3 separate regions of the Homo sapiens genome follow, and all the other regions are linked to region 2. Evidence: promoter capture Hi-C in 16 types of primary human blood cells and fetal thymus (Javierre and others, 2016). All regions are on one chromosome and are shown on one strand. The core of a region is centred on a gene start or on the middle of the fragment in contact, and the rest is flanking DNA. Distances in the headings are between cores, read along the strand shown. Region 1 overlaps DENND4C (DENN domain containing 4C). Region 2 holds the start of PSIP1 (PC4 and SRSF1 interacting protein 1). Region 3 overlaps PLIN2 (perilipin 2).

Region 1 (4,758 bases), core at 632-3,131, 3.9 Mb before region 2:
TATTGCTCTGAAGAAGCAGCGTACCAAGAAAAATAAAGAAGAGGCTGCAGAATATGCTAAACTTTTGGCCAAGAGAATGAAGGTTAGTCTAAGATGATTTGAGGGGGTGGGAGGAGTTCGACCTGGCTTTGGATTTGCGTCTTTAACCCAGAAAGGCCTTAACTGTTTGCTGTTTTGTTTTGTTTAGGAGGCTAAGGAGAAGCGCCAGGAACAAATTGCGAAGAGACGCAGACTTTCCTCTCTGCGAGCTTCTACTTCTAAGTCTGAATCCAGTCAGAAATAAGATTTTTTGAGTAACAAATAAATAAGATCAGACTCTGATCTCTGTTGACTTTTCATTGCTGATAGAAAACTACATAAATGAAGAGAGGGAAAGTTAGGTCATAGAAAATGGGGATATGTATATATGGTATTCCAATGGTGGATAAAGTCAGACCTATTGTGTGTGGTAGTGGAAGACAAGGTCAGTGTACAGGGGTTCCTTTCAGGGGATGGGTGGCACAGGAAGGGATTCTGAGCATAAGACACCTGCCTCTTCAGAATGGCATGGAACTTAGGGGAAATGATGAGGACTATTAATCTTTTTTATATAGTTTATTTTTGAGGAATATAGCTCTTTAAAGCACTATACACAATTTAATACATGAAAATTGACCTTGTGAAGATGAACATGTCTTTTTTAAAAGGTAACTTTTAAGGCATAGTTTTAGTGGATACCTAGTTTTAGTGGATACCATCCACTAAATGGTTTTTAAGCCATTTCAAATTTGTTTTAACAAAGCTTTTCAACTCCAGTGAATTGTTAGGCTGTTCACACACTGAAAAGGAAATGACTAAAAACATTCTTGGATCAGTGAAAAATGCACAAAGTATGTACTTTTTTCTAACAGTTCTATGCTGACTAGCCTATTGTGACAATATCAGGATCTTTAGAAGGTGGCACATTAGGCTTTAAGGTTGAAGTAATGCAAGCTCTTTGTTGGCATTACTGTAATAATAGCTTTACAAAGCAGAGTTCTAAATGTTAAATGTACATGTGAATCACCTAGGGGTCTGGTTAAGGCGCAGATAGTGATTGATAGAGGAGTGGGGACCCACATTTTTACATTACTAAAAAGCTCCCAGGTGTTAGGCCGGTAGTGCCAGTCCCTCGATGCCTACTAAGATTCTTAACTATTCCTCTTACTACATGGTGTTAAAAAGCTACATAACATGAAAAGAATCTTAGTTGGCAATCAATAATAATATGCAGAACTTAAAAGGCAAAGGGGATGGCCAGGTGGGGAGGCCAAGGCAGGTGGATCACCTGAGGTCAGGAGTTCAAGACCAGCCTGGCCAACATGGTGAAACCCCGTTCCTACTAAAAATACGAAAATTAGCGCATGCCTGTAGTCCCAGCTACTCGGGAGGCTGAGGCAGGAGAATCGCTTGAACCAGGGAGGTTGAGGTTTCAGTGAGCCAAGATTACACTGTTGTACTCCAGCCTGGGCGACAGAGCAAGACTCCCATCTCAAAAAAAAAAAAAAAAAAAAATTTAGCACAAGCAGAGAGAGGAACTTAAAAGCCACAAGGTGAGTCCAGTGTTATGGTCCAAAGTTTTATATTAACCAGTTCTTGTTTATGATGCACAAAACATGAGAACCGCCCTGCTTTCTGAAAATTGAGTGCAGCCACAAAATAAGGACAGTCTGTTTTTCCTTAGATTTTTTTTTTTCTTTGACACAGGGTTTCACTCCTACGCCCCGGATGGCGAGCAGTGGTATGGCTCACTGCAGCCTTGACCGCCTGGGAACTACAGGTGTGCACTGCGGCTAGTTTTTGTGCTTTTTGTAGAGTTTTGCTATGTTACCCAGGCTACTCTTGAACTCCTGGGCTCAAGTGATCCGCCTGCCTTGGCATCCCAAAGTGTTGAGATTACTACAGGCGTGAGCCACCATACCCAGTTCTCCACACACACGCAAGTCATTCTGACATGTCGTTAACTATGCAGGTTGTGATCAACCTGTACAATTCGTTCGTTGGAAGAAAAAAAAATCGCTATCGAACCCCAAACCAATATAAGGTACTGCTGAGTAATCTGGACTAATTTGAAAGATTGCTTTTAGAAGTTATCAGGATTAAAGTTGCATACAGTGCTACAAGTCATTCCAGGTACTTCTAAATCTTTCCATAATAATGTTTTTGTCTTGTAAATTTTTAGTGGTACCCTCTCTGTGGTGGGTATTGGAAAAAGCCTTTAAAAATTTATAACAAGAAATCAGTCCCAATATCTAAATGGCAGCAGCAGACTAAAGTTTTCAAGGTAGAGATCTTTACAGATTTTTTTTAATGGGAAGCGCGTCAGTAAGTGAAAACTTGAGTTCAAGTTACGAGTGAAGGAATGGAAAAAACAAAATATTGGGATTCTAAAGATTACAGATTTCAAGAGGCTTAATGTAACAGAAAACAACAATTTTTCATTTTATTCAACCTCAATTTTTATATGCAAGGTAATTCCAAACTTCTGTTGGGTCAGTAAGTGTTAAGTATTAAAACTAGTACCAAGTCTTGAGTTGCAAAAATATATACTCTCAGACAGTGCAAAAGATCCATTTTGAAGGTAATGAAAATTGTACATAATTTCTGACAAATTGTTTCATTTAGCATTTTCACAATAAATTCACACTAGAATTCTGCATAGGTCAGATTAACCCTGAAATGTTGAAAGACTGGTACAATAACTATAATTTGTAAATGGTTACATCAGGTAGAAGGGAGTTAGGTTGTTACTGTACCATATGGAAGTAATTTTACTGTGTCAACTCATTTAGTCATCTGCATAATTACTGTAAACACACACAAAACCAATGGCTTTTTAAACCATGCAGAGAGTTAAGGCAAACTTACTGTTCCTAAGGGATATTTTTAATAAAAGGCATGATAAATGTCAAAGTGAGGCATGTGAGATCATGATTTTCTTAAACCTACTGGCAACAAGCTTAATAAATTTACAGTTTTAAGACTTAATTGATTCAACCTAAAAACACAGTATTTACAAATGCACATTTTTACTCACAAGCATACAAATCTAAATATACAAGAATAAAACTTCCGTGTGCAGTGCAAGTTTATCCCACAGGTTTTAAAAAGTCATCAATACCAACAATGTATGTGCCTGAAAAAAGATTTCATGTTCAATGACATACACTTTAGCATTTTAAGCACATTCCAATGAATTCCATAAATTATTAGGCAGCTGATTTAATTTCATTTTAACTATCTGATGATTGATTCATTTGTTCCCATTTTAAAACTATTGCAAATTAACATTGGGAAGAGGATGGAAGTAACTGGATAATCAAGATAAAACCCATTAAGCAAGATAATACATAATATGAAAGGTGTATTATGTTGGTACAAAAATAATTGCGGTTTTTGCCATTAATAGTGGCAAAAACTACAATTAATTTTGTGCCAACCTAATACATTAAAGTTAGGGAAGGCAGCTGTCATCAGATTTTCAGGTAATTTTAAGATTAATGACTACAGACAAGTTTAGTAGTAGTCATTTATTTAATAGTCAATGAGACCCCTTTCAGAAAACCGTATTGCAACATGCAATCTATTTTAATAAATATACACTTAGAATATGGCTGTATATACACATACCTACACAGCCCTACACATATACAAACTTACACAAATATGTTGCTCTCTTTTTTTTTTTTTTTTTTTTTTGAGACGGTCTCACTCTGTCACCCAAGCTGGAGTTGCAGTGGCGTGATCTCCACTCACTGTAGCCTCTGCCTCAGTTCAAGCGATTCTCCTGCCTCAGCCTGAGTAGCTGGGACTACAGTGGTGCGCCTGGCTAATTTTTGTATTTTTAGTAAAGACAGGGTCTCACCGTGTTGGCCAGGCTGGTCTCGAACTCCTGGCCTCAAGTGATCCACCCACCTTGCTCAGCCTCCCAAAGTGCTGGGATTACAGGCCTGAGCCACCGTGCCCGGCCATGTTGCTTTTATAATTGAGATATTTCATTTGTTTTGGGGGTTAGGCAAATTTAATTTGCCATTCCTCAAACTCAGTAACTTCAAATATAAACAATGCCTAGAATGAATATGGTTCCTCATTATTTCTATCAAACTACTACAAATACTGAAGAATCCCAAAGTAGTTTTCCACAGAGGCAGAAAAGCAGTTCAGGGGTTGAAAATCTTCAATATTAATAAGCCCTGGGACATTCAAATGGCACTTCATATTTCAAGGTAATGCAATATGAATCATAATTCATTATATATTGTCCCCAAGAGTTACTTCAATTCCGTATTCACCAGTTCTTACGATTTGGAAAAAAAAACTTGAATGTTTCCAGATGAAATCTAATCCCCAAGCCTTGTGTGTCAACATTCTAGTGAATCTCTATTTAAATGAGAGGCGCTCCAAAACACTTCCTGCACCACTCGACACTGGCACTTGGTGGAGCATCAATTTTCTGCAACCTTTCAAGAATCTCTGAAGACAGACTATTGTATGCAATTCCATATTCATTGTCAAATGCCTCTGAAAGAAATTTTCAAAAATGAAGTTGTAATTTGTTAAGAAAGACAACAGCCGTTCATTTCAAATTGGTATTGAGTCAAATTATATGTATTTGAACTATATATTTAGAAGTAGAAATCTTTTAAATCTTTTATACATACCAGCTACATTTTTAAAAATTACTTTTGAAAATAAAATGTAAAACTTCCTTTCATAATCTTTTATTAACCAACTTACCAA
Region 2 (4,604 bases), core at 667-3,166:
CTAACTACCCCCTCTTTACCTGTTAATCCTACCATTAGTACTAATAAAAAGTTATCTTTAACGTTAATTATAACTTGTTATATATCTGTTTTTCTTAGTTTGAAGTTTTTACAGTCTGAGGTATCCTCTAAAGCAGTTTCTCAAACTTGAATATGCGTAAGAATCACCTAGGGATCCTGTTAAAACGCAGATTATGATTTAGAAGGCCTGGGGAAGGTCTGAGCTTTACCTGAGCTCCCAGGTAAAGCCCTTGCTGCTGGGCCTTGGACCACACTTGAAGTAGCAAGGCCTTACAGGGTTTAGAACAAATAAAGTGCATACACACAAAAAAATGATTGCTGGATGCTGCTTTGGTCTCTCTTACTCTGTATCTTGAGCTTTTCTTCAATACATCTTTTTCCACCTTTTCCTATGCATAATTTATAGCCAACACCTGACAATCATTCCTTTGTGTAATTACTTAGTTGTGCTCTTCCTTCCCTTTTCTTAGTCACCATTCTCACTGAGAAATGCGTCATTTCATGAGTACTCCAGTTACCCCCAGCCTCTTTCTACTAACATCTACCTTGAAACATCAAGAACTGGTTAAATAATCATTTTTACCCCCTTCTTGCTGAGCAACCTATAGTAGCTTCCTACTACACACATTAAATTCATATTCAGAATGAGAAGCTTCAAGACATTTCACCAACCCTTCCTTCTCCTCTGCCAATTTCTCTTTTTGCTCCACTTGGAACTCTCTGCATATTGCCCAGGTATACTTAGTTTCTCGAAACTCCTTACAGGACATTTTACTTTGGGACTGTCTTCTTTCATTCCTTTTTAAAGACATGCTGTATCGCTTTCAAAAAATTCTCAATTTTTACCAATTCAAAAAAAATTTCCTAATTCATTTCCAGTTGAGTCCCGTATTTAAAACAGTATTATCTAGGTGCTAATATATGTCTTATTATTCTTATTTTTATATGTCTTAACATTCTTTTTAAAAATATTTTCAGCCTCTCTAAAGGATCAAAAAATTAACCTTTAAAATCCCTTGAAGAGCATTTTAAGAGAGAAAATATTTGAGGTTTAGTAACACTTACACATTGTACCACCTACCAGCTCCTATTCTACTAGGGAAATAAAATTTAGATGCAGCTAAAATTTAGTTAGGGCCCAAACTCACATCCTATCTAAAAGGTTTCTGTTTTCCTGTCATTGTTTTCTACCCTTCGCATTTTGCATTCAGTAGGGTTGCATTTTTCTTAATAGTTCTTGGTGATGCAAATGCAAAAGAAATGAAATAGGGCTCTCTCATACTACAATTTCAAGGAAAAGGAGACTACGAGGCCCATTCAGCGAGGTGCAAGAGGCCTAGATGCAGCACACCCTGCAACCGCCGCATGCTCCAATTTCATCTTAGGGTTTTCGTACAGCTCCTCTTTTTTGGATGATGCAAACCGCGCAAAAGCAGCATTCAAACCTCCCCACCCTGGAAACGATACAAGAACATGAATCTTTACTGCCACTTTCTCCCTAACACGCAGCCAAGGGAGAGAGGCCCGGATACCCGCCCCCAAAACCGCGTCCACAACAATCATTTCCTCCCTCCCCGCCTTTTACATACAGTACACATACAAATACACACACGCAGAGAAGCCAGCAGGGGCGGGCCGGGCCCGACCACTCCGCAAACCGCAGGGGGAACTTGCGGCAGGCCGAGCTATTTTCGCCCAGTCCTTTCTTCTTCGCTTGCGTCTTCCTCTCCATCTGCATGCACCTGTTACATGAAAGCGAACTTGGGGACGTAGGGTTTCCAGAAAATCCGCTTCGGAGCCACACAGCTTCGCCGGGTGCTGCAACATCCCCCCTCTCTCGGTAAACAGTTGGTCGCGCCCCAGTGCTAGCGGGCGCCGAGCGGGAGCCGCGCGGGAGCAGCGCAGCTACGGCGGCGGCAGCGGCGGCGCGGTTGCGATTCCGAGCCGTTGAGACGCCTCTGCGGCAGCTGGTGGCGCAGGTGGCTTGCGTGGACGCGGGTAGAGGCGACCGGCCAGCAACCGCAGCGTCGGCGCCCGCGGCCCCGGCAGGTGAGCGGGCGACGGGGACTCGCCCCGCCCCCCCCTCGGTGGCGTCGCTCCTGGCTGTAGCGGGGAAGTGGACGCGGCCCGCCCGGGAGCCGAGGGGGCCGAGGCTGCAGCCGCTGGGCAGCAGGTTGCGGGGGAGGCCTTGCGTGGGCGGAAGGGGGCCGCTCGCTTCTCGGAATCCCTGCCTTTTTCTCTCCCATGCACCCCCTCCCTTTTGGGGCTTAAGCTCGGTGGAAAAAGCCCGGAGAAAGATGGGGCGGGCAGACGGGCGATTTCTGGCCGGGCAGCATCCCTGCTTCAGGTGGTGGCGTCTCTTCGGTGGCGGGGTGGAGGACCTGCTCCAGCGCGGAGGCAGCGCACTGGCGGGGGAGGAGCGGGAGGCGGCCGTCCCCTCGCTCTCCCACCCCCACCCGCCGGTTCCCCTCCCCCTCCCCTTGCGGCCCCTCCCTTCGGGGTTCTTCGCTTTAACCGCCCTCGGTGCTCTCCCTAGCAGGCGCGTCGGGACGCCCCGAGGCATCCTCCCCCGCCCGCGGGCCCGGTAGCTGGGCCCGCGTCCGCCGCCCGCATCCCCGCGCCGCCGCATCTCCTCGCCGCCTCCCGGGCTTCGGACCCCCGGTCTCGCCCCCGAAACATGACTCGCGATTTCAAACCTGGAGACCTCATCTTCGCCAAGATGAAAGGTTATCCCCATTGGCCAGCTCGAGTAAGTGATTTGTAGCCCTCGCGCTTAGCAGTGCTACCCTCCTCTCCAGAGGCCTGCTGCCCACCGTGTCTCTTTATTTTTTCTTCTGTCCTTTCTCTCCCTCGCTTTAGTCTCATTTGTAACCTGACCTTTCATTTTAGTTTTTTGCCCAATAATCTCCCGTGTAATTATGAAAATCCAGACGTTTCTACATACCTGTGTATTTCCCTATGGTTTATTGGCAGACTTGGACAGATTTTCTTCCTAGGAAATATTTAAATGCGTTGCTAGTTAATATTCCATTGTAGGTGAAATAATGAAGAGTGAATTTTTGTTTAAAAATTAGTGAAACATTGACATTTCCATAGTTTTGGATCAAGTACAAAATATCAATGGAATTTGTGCAGATTACACACAAACACTTGGATGTCAGAGAAGTGCGTATGTGATTAAATTGGATTTACAGGGTTTTAAAAAAAATACCTTGTACTTGATGAGGCCTTCTGGATTTGCTTGTTTAATACAGATTCAGGACTGGATATTCTTGAAAGTATTACAGTAGTTTAGTACCGAGGAAGGGCCAGAAAATTCATTTCTCCTTTTTTATTTGAGATGTTTATGACCTTGAAGAAGTTGTTTTACCTTTTTGTTTCCAATAGGCAAAAAGGAGGTGTGGACCAGATTCCTCAGTTCACATCTAGTGGTACAGAGAAATGATTAAGGACCCAGGATGTTTTGTGACATTGAGGAATTGAGACTGTTTAAAGATCTACGCTCCATTTTTAGAAAAAGGGTTCTTTTTGTTTATGGTGGTACCCAGGCTCTCAAACAGAGATAGATAGGACCTAAGATATGTTGCAATCAATTAGATTAGGTAAACTCAAGATCCTTTAAAAATATACTTACATGGGGTTCTGAAGTTTTATTTTTCCAAGCCATTTATTTTCGACTAATTTACTGTCCTTTGAAAATGTATTTCTTAAAAATAATTAAATTCTGTAGTTTTAGTTATGTCAGCAGGGGAATGGTGGAAAACACCCATTAGATAACGGAGTCCTGTCTAGGAGCTGAGAGTGCCATCCAAGTGTAAAACGATCACTGTTCCTTGACTTTCTTCCATCTAGCTGCTCTACGTAAACTCCTGTTCACAAGTTTCCTTCCAAAGCTTTTTTCCTTGCCTATAAAGTCTGCCTTTTCGGTGCAGTCTTACTTGAACAATCCTTAGTCATAATCCTTGTCTGTATATTTTACATTCTAATCTATTCCTTTCGTGATAATCTTTTGTTTTAATTCTTAACTCTGTGTATGCTTTGACCTCCAAATATATTGTGAGACCGAGGGCAACAACCTTAAATGGAATTTGTTTATACCCTCCATAGTCCGTAGTATATATGATGCACCTATAAAACACAATTCACGTTCAAATGGAGCCTAGGGAAACTGATCAGGTTTAAGGCCCCTCTGATATACTTTTTCATGGTCTTCGAGGTATCCTTGTTTATTTTGAGGTGTTTGAAAATATGAGGTTGTCTAATAGATCTATATTCCGATTTGCATGCCACAGTGAAGTTAAAAGCCAAAGGAAATGTTTAAAAAATCTCCCAAATCACCCTCCCCACGCTCATATGTTAAGTGACTAAGAGTGCTACTGAAAATAAAATAGGGTAGCCTTTGGAAGACCAGAGTGTTTTCCTTATTTAACAAGTTCTACATTTAACAAGTTCATTTGGATTGGAAGGGAAGTGTTTGTCTTTTCCCTTTTCCCCATCATTTTTTCTGAGAAACACCTCCATTTAGTGTTGGTGTATTCTGTGTCCAACAGTTACATTCCTTTTTCTGTCTTCTTCATTCTTAAA
Region 3 (4,272 bases), core at 1-2,500, 3.6 Mb before region 2:
CTCCCAAAGTGCTGGGATTACAGGCGTGAGCCACCGCGCCTGTCCACAGAAGGCCTGTTTCATAGCTTTGGCAGATGTTTATGATCCTTTAATTAAAAATCCCCCAGAGGATGGGCACGGTGGCCTGCACCTGTAATCCTAGCACTTTGGGAGGTCTAGATGGGAGGATCGCTTGAGGCCTGGAATTTGAGACTGCTCACTGCAGTCTCTGCCTCTCGGGCTCAGGTGATTGTCCTGCCTCAGCTCCCTGAGTAGTTGGGATTACAGGCATACACCACCATGCCCAGCTAATTTTGTATTTTTAGTAGAGACAGGGTTTTGCCATGTTGGCCAGGCTGGTCAGGAACTCCTGACCCCAGGTGATCCGCCCGCCTCGGCCTCCCAAAGTGCTAGGACTACAGGTGTGAGCCACCATGCCTGGCCATGAATGAGTTTTAGAAATGGATAGTGGTGATGGTTGTATAATGTTGTAAATGGACTTAATGCCACTGAATTGCACAGTTAAAAATGGTTGAAATGGTGAAATTTGTTATGTATATTTTACCGAAATAAAGAATAGAAATGTCATACTCCATGAGAAATCTCATACTCTCATACTTAGTAGTCACTCCCCATTTCCTAACAACCACCCTGAGGCAGCTACTCATCTACTTTGTCTTTATAGATTTGCCTATGCTGGATATTTCTTATAAATGAAATCATAAAATGTGTGGGTTTTTTTGTGATTGGCTTCTTTCGTTAAGCATAATGTTTTCAAAGTTAATCTGTCTTGTCACATCATATCAGTACTTCATCTCTTTTTATTGTTGAATAGTAATTTACTGTCTAGACAGACAATATTTATTCATTCTTCAACTGATGGATGTTTGGGTTCGTTCTACTTTTGGAGATTATGTATAATGCTTCTGTGAACATTTGTATACAAGTTTTTGTGTGGACATGTTTTCAGGTTTTTTTGGTATATACCCAGGAGTGGAATTGCTGGGTTATATAATAACTGTTTAAGCTTTTGAGGAGCTGCCAGACTGTTTTCCAAATCAGCTGTACCATTTTACATTCCCACCAACACTGTATGGAGGCTCCAATTTCTCCACAACATGAACTGCTTTTGAATAAAGATTTAAATCATTCTTTCAAATGGTTAAGCCAGGGACTTTTAGGATTATAAGGAGCCTTTAGAGACCAGCCATTCCAACTCTGCTACTTCCTAAATGAATTTGGTACTAGTACTTGGTTTGGTATTCTTAGTGGGAAGCTCACACTAAAATCTCCCTTGTTAGGGAGATCCAGGGTGGTCTTGGCATACTCTTTCCTCCTGAGGACCCCAAATACACTGACCTGTGCTGAAGTAAGCGTAGGTAGGGATTAAACTAGCATGGGAATGCCGATTTTGAGAGAGTTTCCAGATACCTTATTCTCTGAATGACAGTTCAGGGAAAGCCCGGCTACTCTTGGCATTAACATTAGGGGCCAGTTGATAAGGAAGAAGCTTCAGAGCCAGCTTCCTGTTTGGCCTGTCACTGCCTCTGCCTGCTCCTCCCTCACACCCCCATATTTCCTTACCTTTAGAAGAGAGTTGCCAGCAACTTGCCAGGCCTCTTCCTGTCAGAACTAGATAAACCAGGCAATGCCTTCTGTTGTATAAGATCAACATTCTTGCCTTTTTTTTTTTTTTTGAGATGGAGTCTTGCTCTGTCACCCAGGCTGGAGTGCAATGATGCATCTTGGCTCACTGGAACCCCTGCTTCCTGAGTTCAAGCGATTCTCCTGCCTCAGCCTCCTGAGTAGCTGGGACTACAGGCGCACACCATCACGCCCAGCTAATTTTTGTATTTTTAGTAGAGACGGGGTTTCACCATGTTGGCCAGGATGGTCTCGATCTCTTGACCTCGTGATCCGCCTGCCTCAGCCTCCCAAAGTGCTGGGATTACAGGCGTGAGCCACCGTGCCCAGCCCATTATTGCCATTTTTTATAAGGCCTATGGTAATGTGTGTTCATTCTATACCTATAGTACTACATTAACATTTTCCCATTTGTGATTCTAGTTGCAGTTGCCAATACCTATGCCTGTAAGGGGCTAGACAGGATTGAGGAGAGACTGCCTATTCTGAATCAGCCATCAACTCAGGTGAGCTTGGGACAAAAGTGCTGAGACTTGACACTTCACATGTTTTCATCTTCTATCTGTTAAAACAAGCTGTACATATCACAAACAGGCAAATACTTGTTTTCCCAACCTGGATCTGGATGTATGTTTGAAAAATAATGGCCACTTCCTTACTTCCTGAACTGTTGTCAAGTTGTATCTACGAAGCAGAGAAGAACTAGCCTCCTTTGGATTAGAAAACTTTTAGTGTGTTGTCTATCAGTTTGTGTCTTTGCTCCTATAAATGAAATTGCTGTCTCAAGTAACTGATTGTCTTGTGGTATTAAATAAATGCAGACGTGATATATATAACCTTTTCTCACCTGGCTTGTACAATGCTGCCAGGAACTACCATCCATATGGGATAGCTAGCCAGTGTTGACAAAAATGATAGGCTTGTCTGTCCTGGTGATCCTTTGGTTCAGATAATGTCCTAAAATTTTGTTTCAAATTAAGAATACAGAATGGCACAAAAGGATACCAGTTAGGGAAAAATATAGCTCTGTGTCTTTTCATAATCTAAATACAGTCATCTGTCACTTAGTGATGGGAATATATTTTGAGAAATGCACATTAGGTGATTTTGCCATTGTGTGAACATCACAGAGTATACTCACACCAACCTAGATGGTAGAGCCCAGTGGTCCCCAAGCTTTATGGCACCAGGAACTGGTTCCATGGAAGACAGTTTTTCCATGGACCAGCAGGGGGTGGGTGGTGTTTTTGGGATGATTCAAGTGCACTATATTTATCATTAGATTCTCATAAGGAGCATGCACGTGCACAGTTCACAAGAGGGTTAGGGTTAGGTCTCCTATGAGAATCTAATGCCGCCTCTGACTGGTAATGGACTGGTAATGGACTGGTAATGGTCCATGGCCCGGGGGTTAGGGACTTGTGGTGTAGCCTGCTATATACCTAGGCTATATGGTGTATAGCCTGCTATATACCTAGGCTATATGGTGTATAGCCTGCTATATACCTAGGCTATATGGTGTATAGCCTGCTATATACCTAGGCTATATGGTGTATAGCCTGCTATATACCTAGGCTATATGGTATATAGCCTGTTGCTTGCTTCTAGGCTACAAACCTGCACAGCATGACTACACTGACTACTGTAACACAATGATAAGTATTCGTGTATCTAAACTAGAAAAGGTACAGTGAAAAAAAAAAGTATACCTGTTATAGGGCAGTTCATTATAATCTTATGGGACTATCATTGAATAGTGGTCCATCGCTGACCAAAATATTATGTGGTACACAACTATAGGTAGGTTTAGTGTATAGCCTTTAGAATGCTTGTGCAAATCTTTTAAATTTTTCACTTACATTGCTTGAGACTGTGCTAATGGTGAGAGTTATTTTCCATTTCGGATATTTTCTTTAAATGTTGGTAACTTGTGTTCTTTTTTTTTTTTTTTTTTTTTTTTTTGAGACAGAGTCTTGCTCTGTCACCCAGGCTGGAGTGCAGTGGCACAATCTCGGCTCACTGCTGTCTCTTCCTCCTGGGTTCAAGCAATTGTCCTGCTTCAGCCTCCCCAGTAGCTGGGTTCACAGGCACGCCCCGCCACACCCAGCTAATTTTTTTTGTCATTGTTTGTTTGTTTTTGAGACAGAGTTTTGCTCTTGTTGCCCAGGCTGTAGTGTAATGGTGCAATTTTGGCTCACTGCAACCTCCACCTCTGGGGTTCAAGTGATTCTTCTGCCTCAGTCTCCCAAGTAGCTGGGGTTACAGGCATGTGCCACCACGCCCAACTAATTTTTTGTATTTAGTAGAGACGGGGTTTCACCATGTTGGTGAGGCTGGTCTCGAACTCCTAACCTCAGGTGATCCAACCAACTCAGCTTTGCAAAGTGCTGGCATTACAGGCATGAGCCACCATGCCCTGCCATGTATAATAACTGCATACTAATAACACCCCGAGGGCCAGGTATAGTTTGATCTTCAGTTTCCTCTCTGGATTTGTGTGACTTTGGAATAAGCTATATAACTTACCTTCTTTTCTTTTCTTTTTTTTTCTTTTCTCTTCTCTTTTTTTTTTTTTTTTTTTGAGACAGGGTCTTGCTCTGTCACCCAGGCTGAGTGCAGTGGCACAATCACAGCTCACTGCAGCCTTGG

Evidence for each region. The method cuts DNA at HindIII sites, captures the fragments that hold promoters and counts their contacts. A CHiCAGO score of 5 or more calls a contact.
Region 1: a contact is called between a fragment that was not itself captured here and the fragment with the promoter of PSIP1 in region 2, in 2 of 17 cell types (total CD8 T cells and total CD4 T cells). The highest score is 7.1, in total CD8 T cells.
Region 3: a contact is called between a fragment that was not itself captured here and the fragment with the promoter of PSIP1 in region 2, in 1 of 17 cell types (total CD4 T cells). The highest score is 5.8, in total CD4 T cells.

Annotation. Positions count from the first base shown.
Region 1 is chr9:19,371,818-19,376,575 of GRCh38, reverse strand. DENND4C (DENN domain containing 4C) reads right to left here. Exons shown (of 33, transcript NM_001330640.2): 32 at 4,756-4,758; 33 at 2,295-4,539. The coding sequence ends at 4,403. It overlaps RPS6 (ribosomal protein S6), which reads left to right. Exons shown (of 6, transcript NM_001010.3): 5 at 1-82; 6 at 188-861. The coding sequence ends at 283. Among named protein-coding and RNA genes, the nearest start is that of RPS6, 6.0 kb to the left of the region's middle. The HindIII fragment of the contact is 2,196 bases long and covers 784-2,979 here.
Region 2 is chr9:15,508,282-15,512,885 of GRCh38, reverse strand. PSIP1 (PC4 and SRSF1 interacting protein 1) reads left to right here and starts at 1,916. Exons shown (of 16, transcript NM_033222.5): 1 at 1,916-2,069; 2 at 2,557-2,769. The coding sequence starts at 2,698. RefSeq lists enhancers at 1-244, 897-1,849, 1,850-2,803 and silencers at 1,931-2,010, 2,031-2,240, 2,251-2,310, 2,441-2,490, 2,591-2,790. The HindIII fragment of the contact is 3,241 bases long and covers 675-3,915 here.
Region 3 is chr9:19,121,422-19,125,693 of GRCh38, reverse strand. PLIN2 (perilipin 2) reads left to right here. Exons shown (of 8, transcript NM_001122.4): 4 at 2,047-2,129. Among named protein-coding and RNA genes, the nearest start is that of PLIN2, 3.9 kb to the left of the region's middle. RefSeq lists an enhancer at 1,409-1,703. The HindIII fragment of the contact is 483 bases long and covers 1,009-1,491 here.